Linked DNA regions of Homo sapiens: region 1 is linked to region 2. The links are contacts of gene promoters, found by promoter capture Hi-C in blood cells and fetal thymus (Javierre and others, 2016). All regions are on one chromosome and are shown on one strand. Each heading gives the region's core, a stretch centred on a gene start or on the middle of the fragment in contact. The rest is flanking DNA. Distances are from core to core; before and after follow the strand shown.

Region 1 (3,454 bases), core at 450-2,949, 1.0 Mb after region 2:
GGAGTGTTCTGCGGCTGAGTTTGGCTGTGTAATTAAAGCCCTGGTGTCTAGTGCCGAGAAGAAAAGAGAAAACAGCATTGGAACCCAACTGGCAGATGTGCTTGTTGTGCTGAGAGAAATTCACAGAACCTTGTGGTGCCATCTGGCTGAGAGCTGACTGTTTGCATGATGCAGTTCTCACTTAAGGAGGTGAAGCATCAAACTCCCTGGCCCCACCCACCTGCCTCTGCATCTGGGCAGCTGAAGGTAAGGGCACTCAGCAGCCCCGATGTAATGCCACATCCCAGTGTGCTCAGGAGGAAGCCACCAATCTTTGTTCTCTGCCTAAGGAAAGAAAAACAGCTAAAACAAAGCATTCTAGGACTGACCTTTGGTACAATGTTGGAAATATGAAAGAAATATAAATGTAACATTTTAAATTTCTGAAACGAGGAATAATTATCAATTTCATATACACAAAGTAAGCCCAGTAGGCAGGCCTACTAGAGCAGTGGTCTCCAAATTTTTTGGCATTAGGGACGGGTTTCATGGAAGACAATTTTTCCACAGATGGGGTCCGGGGGATGATTTTGGAATGAAACTGTTTTGCCTCATCCTCAGGCATTAGATTCTCATAAGAAGCACCCAACCTAGAGCCCTCACTTGCGCAATTCACAATAGAGTTCACGCTTCTATGAGACTCTTATGCTACCGGCTGATCCGACAGGAGGCAGAGCTCACGTGGTAACGCTCACTTGCCCACCGCTCACCCCCGGTTGTGTGGCCCGGTTCCTAACAGGCCACAGACTGGGACTGGGACCTGCCCGAGGCTGTGGGGTTGGGGATCCCTGTGCTAGAGGCTCTCAGAAGCATTCTCCATCTCCAGATAATATTCTGTCCCTCCACATGTGAAGGAGACACAGAGCTTTCCTGATGGAGCCTGGCAGGTCTGTCTGTCTTTATACACACCCATTGTATAGAGAAGTATTCTGGATCCAGGGTATATCATGATCATTGTCAATTTTCAGAACATCTCCTGGGCTGGTGAACTGTGGTTAGATAATAAAGAGTTGCTGGTGAAATGCCTCAGGGTGTGGTTAGAAAAAAGAAAGAAAAACAAGTGGTAATATAGGGTGCGGGGGGAGGTATGGGGAGGCTGGGTAACTGTGATTTTTAACTCAAGAAGGAAAAAGGGAGAGGAGAAAAAATGAAGACTCTATAGCTCATCTAGAGTGAGCCAAATTGGATCCCAAACACTAACACTTAATGCACTAAAAACTGTATAATTCAAACATCTCTCAACACAGAAGATGGGTACCACGTGTGTAACAAAACATAATTGAGCTGAGGTGAATCCCTGTCCTTAAAAGAGGTTTATAAGCTAATAGTGGTGATGAAGGTGAGGAAGACTCTTAGTTCCACTCAGAAAGTGAGAGGATCTGAATACTCCAGAAAAGGAAAAAGATAAGAGGAGAGATGAAATGAGATTGGCAAATTGTTGATGATTGTTGAAACTGAGCAATGAGTATTGAAAGGCAGGGATCATTACCTGACTCTTCTATCCAGGAGGCCGTTAGTGGACCAGGAAGTCAGGACAAGATCTGAGGTGAAGAGCTGGTGAGGAGTGAGACAGCTGCCAAGGTCCACCTTGTTCCCCTAAGGAGCTGAGCTCTTTCTCTTCCTTCCTTTTAGACAGGTTCATTAAAGCTGGCCCACTCCACATGACCTAGAAGGACTGGGTCAACCCTGAAAGGTTTGCTCCATAGCCCAGAATGACAACCTCTGACATCACAAATGCAGGATTGGAGAAGGCATAGTTGGCATGCAAGCCGTATTGATTTTTTTACAAATCAGAGCTTCATGCTTGCTGCTGAGAACATTTCACCGGGCCACGAAGCTGCTGCAGGAAGTTTTCAAGTCCTCTCCTCTACACCGTGACCTTAACTTAGAGAGCACTCTCAGCCCCTCCTCCCATCCCCCCGCACCTGCCCAGGTGGGCCCCACTGCTCTCCACACCCACACCCACCTGGTCGTTGCTCTCTACCGAGGAGGCTCTCCCTGCTTTGCTGTGCTTTTGTCAACTTTCCTGCAGCTTCCCTGTTCTGGGAGGCTGAGCTAGAGTGGAAACGACCAGCTTCCCCAAACAGGCAGCTCCGAGAAGGCGTCTGCTCCGCGTCTGCTCCCACTGAGCCAAGGTCCAGCCCAAACGCTCAAATTAGAGCTTGTTAGCCAATTGCTGAAAAACTGCAGGGGGACTCATTTGTAAGCAAACTAATGAGACATCCCAGGATAGAAAGCCTGGTTTTATTTTTAGCATTTCAGAGCTGACACCCCAAACACCTCTATAACCACCTGCCAGTCTGAAGAGGGAACAAGCAGAGCTCAGGATGTGGTGCCGTGCGAGGGCGGTAAGTGGAAGGAAGCAGCGCATGGGGAGGGTGCCTTGGAGACCAGAGGAGCACAGCAAGGGGAGGATGCTCAGCTCTCACACCTGCTCTGTCTTGGTCATAATGAAAAAACAGCTCTGACACAGGGAGTGTGTCAGAACACCACAGTACCCTCTGGGACTGTGTGGGAAAACAAAAAACAAAAACCAAAACAAGGGAGACTCCTTCCCTCTTAACCTCAAATGGTCCCTCTTAACTCCAGACCCTTGAGCGTCTTGCTCCGCCACTGCATGGGGCAGGTGCAATGTACTCTGTGATCTGTGATCTCCTTGCTATATTCCTGGCAGGGGCTCTGCTACTGTGGGCTTTCACAGCATGACTCCAGCCTTGCTGCACTCAGGCCTCACTGTCACCAAGTGGGCTGGGGCTGCCCACCAGGGGGGCATGCAGGGCCTTTCCCTCTCCCCATGCCCTGGTCTCAGGTACACTGCTGCTGCATGCCAGCTCTTTTCTGCTGCATCCTATGCAGCCACTGGGCCACTTGCTCCTCCCAGGCAAATGCTGAAGAGACACTCTGCTCTTCAGCAGATTGGTGCACACCTATATTTAGCCACATTGTGGAATATAGTGACAATGATACTTTGTACTCAGGAGACACCTTTTATCAGAGGAGTGTGATGCACTCTGCAAACATCATCAGCACGGCACCCTTGGGGAGGAAAGACTGTGCCAAGTCTTCCAATCCCCAGGCTTACAGCTAGAGAGATTGAAGCCAGGGAGGCGGGGTGTCACCAGAATCTCCTAATGAGTCAGGAGGCCTGAACGGAGTGATGAGGTGCTCCTGGAAGGTTTTCATCACACCTGCCTCTTTCTGAGCCTGCAGAGCCTATAGTTCCCCCTAGAGCTGGTCCTCTCTCCCTCCCTGGCACAAAAGTGTTCCTTTGCTCACACAGCTGTCCCTGTGCCTGGACACACTTGTAACTTGACTTTAAAAGCCATCTGCCAGCTCACTAGAAACACAGACATGCTGTCTGTGCTGGGGCTTACATTTGCATCACCGCGGTACCTCGATGCTCAGGACAGATATT
Region 2 (3,722 bases), core at 917-3,416:
GTCTGTAGCTGCAGTTTGGGCGGCTGTAGCGGCACAGGGAGCTCCCATCCCAACTCAGAAGGGGCAGCTCCCACGGGCTCCATGGAGTGTTGCAGCCCCAGCTGTGCTTCCCTGCTGCAGCCAGCATGATGGCAGCAGCCACTGCCATCACTAGCAGTGCCGATGGCTACCTGAAGCTGGAAGACGTAAGGACCACTTCTCCCCTAGGGCCTGTAGAGGGAGTGCAGACTTGTCCAGACCTTGATTTCAGGCTCTCGACCTTCAGAGCTGTGAGCAAATACATTTTTGTTGTTTGAATCCACCAGTCTGTGGGAACACATAGCAGCCACAGGAAACTAATACAACACCTGAGAGCCCCATCTGTAGTAATTATTCAATAACAGTTAGTCATCAGTCACCATCAACCTCATCCTATTTCGGACCAAACCTGGGCAGTGGGGACACATCAAGCCTACCATTTGGAGGGTGACTCTCCCAGCAGTGGGGAATGAAGTGGCACAGAGTAGCCATTAGAGGCCCAAGCCTGGAGGTAAAGGGGCGAATTCACCTGGGGGAAAAAGAGCTTTGGAGGCAGAATCAAAGAGACCTGGTGATCAAACTGCAGTCTCAAGGAAGCTGCCTTCCCTTCTAAATTGAGCAGCTAGGACCCTCTTAACTGAACTCTCAAAGTCTGGAAGGTTTGAGGAGGACAAGGAGTGTGATTTTGCACATGTCAAGTTGGAGGCCCTGCTGTGACACCCACATGGAACTGTCTGGTAGACAGTTAGATATTCTGGTCTGAAAAAGTAGGAAGAAAGTCCAAGTCAGAGATAAAGGTTAGAGAGTTGTTGGCACCTTTATGCAGCACTTGAAGCCCTGTGCAGGATATGGTCACAAAGAGAAGGTAAGCCTAGAAGGATCAATCCTGGGGGACTCCAACAGTTCCCAGACAAGAAGGGGATGAAATGGGGAGACAGTGGGAAAACAGGGTGGTTAGAAAGGGAAGAGAAGCATCCAAAGGGGTGCTGTCGGGATGCTAGGAGGGGATCCTCCCTCCTCTGTCTCTCCTGTTTGCCTTCCCATCATATAGAAACTGAGTGTATTAGATATTTTCTGCACTAATTAAGTATTTTCATTTTCCATTCTTAATTTACAACGGAATGAATTGGAATGAAAATATGCATTTCATTCACTCTTTTGGGAGCACAATTCTAGGGAATTTGTACTTGAACAATCCTTCACTGCTCCATAGCCACTGTGGAATCACAGTTACCCAACTATACAGCAGCAATGGCCAATTATTGCCACAAGAGACTATGATGGAGCTGACTACACGGTAATCATGCCACTAGCGTCACAGCTAGAGTGGTTCTCCCTCCACAGACCCAAAAGGCTGAACTGGTGAACCTGCTGCATCTGTGGGCAGAATTAGGATGAAAAGCACTACCTCTGTGAAATACAAAATCTCTGTGGAAGAAAAATCAATTCAGGTTAGAGGCGGCAGCTGAAGGCCATGGCTCCCAGCCTGGTGCGACAGCCCAGGGAGGGCGTCTGCCTCTGCAGACACAGCTGGGACTCCATTCAGCAGCCAACCCTTCCCCCACTTTCCTTGCTGTTTCCAAGATCCTATATGGGGATCGGGACTCAGGCAGGACCTGTTCTCTTCAGAGCTTCCAGGACTTCTCTTTCTTCTTTGCCTTTGGCCCTGTTTTCCTTGGAAAATCACCAGTTCTTCCTTTTTTCCTGTCCCCTCTTAGCCAGGCACTTCCTCGAGTGTTTAAAAACCCTGCGCGTTTTAGGGAGCGGGGATTTGGCAAAGGTTATGCGAAGGACTGAAAAGGGGCAGCGTCATGAAGGCCCTGTCATTCTCCCTGACTCCCCGTCTTTTCCTCAGTTGAGCATACTCCTAAGAGCGATGCCACACCCTTAAATACTAAGGCCCCTTTTTCTCAACAGGACCCTTTCCCCGGGAAAGACCCCAGCCCCGCCCCGCAGACCGGCAGAGTCTGCTGTCTTACTTGGCTGGAGGTTGTGGTGGCAGAGAGAGGGATCCGGAGCCCTGGGCCCAGGCTGTTCCATTCTGCCCCAGGAGGCGGCCGCGGGGCCCTGGCTCCAGCTATCTCAGCGCTTGCGGGAGCCGCGGGCTGCTTTGTGACGCGTCGCCATGGAGACAAGGATCGGGTTCCAGGGAGTTCTGCCCCTGCCAAGGGGTGCTGGCCACGCAGGAGGCTTAACCTGGCCGGCGCGGGAATGGGGTGCAGAGAGCAAAGAAATGTGGCTTTGATCTTATGGATGCCTTACTTTTACATTATTTGTACAGTTCTTGCAGTGAGCTTTCCGGACCACTGTCTTGTATGTTTCCTAAGAAAAGCAAAAAGGGAAGAGATTGAAGAGAAAGTAGATTTTCAACTACAAACTTTCATCCATTTGCTTTCAGCTTAAGCAAATGTGCGCAAAGTTGTCATGGATTTTTGCAGTCAATAAAAACCAAGCAAGAAGACTGAATCCCAAGTCATCTGGTATAAATGGAAGCAGTTTCTGTGATAGTTCCACGCGGTCAGAAGGGTCATCCTGGCTTAGGAGAGGGGCAGAAGAGGAAATGCACGCGTGGAAACAGGAGTGGGCAGGGAGGATGTGACACTGTCCTCCTCACCAGGCCACGTTCCTGGCACCAACCATAGTGTTTGTGAGGGTCAATTTAATTGTTCTTGTGCTCTCATAGAGGAAGCTGTGTCTTTCATCCCCTTGTAAGAGTTTTCACTGATGAAGGGGGTCTTTTATCTTCATATCTTGGGAACTACTGAAACTGTTTCAAAGAGTCAAAGACACCAATAACTAACAGAAATTCTTGTTTTCAGGGGCAGATAAGAAAAGAAACAATTTGCTGAAACTCCCTCTGCTTATAACAAAACTGACTGAAATCAGCCGGAATCAATATGGCCAAATGCAGTTTGCGCACAGCAAGCTTGCTGATGTCACAGCCTGAATTTCTACTGCATGTTTCATACCAACTCCCTCCAAATTTGCACATGGGACCCACCAGGAAGCATGAAGAGAGAGCCATGCATGCCTGAAGACTTCCCAGATGTTCCCTTTGCTTCCACCAATCACCTGCTAACCCCAGGATCCAACCCTAAACCTTTTGTAATAAAATTACTGCCCTAAAGCCAGTACAAGACAGATTTGAACTGGACTTTTGTTTCCTCAGAAGTTAACTTGCAATGTGAAGCTTTCCTTTTCTCAAAAACTTGGTGTCATAGTGTTGGCTTCTAGTGCAGTGAGCCCCTTTTGCTGGATAACCTTACCTGGTAATTTGACATACTAGGTGGTTAGTAACTACTGACTGTCTCCAGGTTACAACACAGTTATTACCCACTTGGGTGAAAAGAGAAGACAGGAAATACATTTTGGAGTTGGCTGGCAACCTGTTTACAAAGCAATTTACAACAGTTCCTTATTCTTAAGGGGCTATTCTAATACAAGACCTCAGAGAAACAGTGCAGTGTGACAAAGGAGGAATTTATCAAAGGAGACAGAAAAAGCATCAAGGTAAGGATCCCAAATATATGTGCAAGGAATGTCTTTAAAATGAAGAGCTAAACTAGAATTTCCTGAAGGTAGAGTTCTATCCATATAATGGAATGAATATAACACATTATAAACTCTCATGTTTTGAAGCAATGGAGGGTGGAACACATTAGAAGGCATAGATGTTATTAAAAGGAATGAGTCTAAATTAGGAT

Evidence for each region. Contacts are between HindIII fragments. The CHiCAGO score rates a contact against its expected background, and 5 or more counts as called.
Region 1: the fragment with the promoter of LINC00544 here is called in contact with the fragment with the promoter of TEX26-AS1 in region 2 in 4 of 17 cell types (fetal thymus, monocytes, M2 macrophages and 1 more); the score reaches 9.1 in fetal thymus.

What each region holds. Positions count from the first base shown.
Region 1 is chr13:29,934,776-29,938,229 of GRCh38, reverse strand. It overlaps LINC00544 (long intergenic non-protein coding RNA 544), which reads right to left and starts at 1,699. Exons shown (of 5, transcript NR_033889.1): 1 at 1,529-1,699; 2 at 949-1,028; 3 at 221-324. RefSeq lists enhancers at 2,266-2,385, 2,516-2,635, 3,356-3,415. The HindIII fragment of the contact is 6,836 bases long and covers 1-3,454 here.
Region 2 is chr13:30,931,052-30,934,773 of GRCh38, reverse strand. It overlaps TEX26-AS1 (TEX26 antisense RNA 1), which reads left to right and starts at 2,166. Exons shown (of 4, transcript NR_038287.1): 1 at 2,166-3,528. TEX26 (testis expressed 26) reads right to left here and starts at 2,118. Exons shown (of 7, transcript NM_152325.3): 1 at 1,998-2,118. The coding sequence starts at 2,058. The HindIII fragment of the contact is 4,425 bases long and covers 1-2,946 here.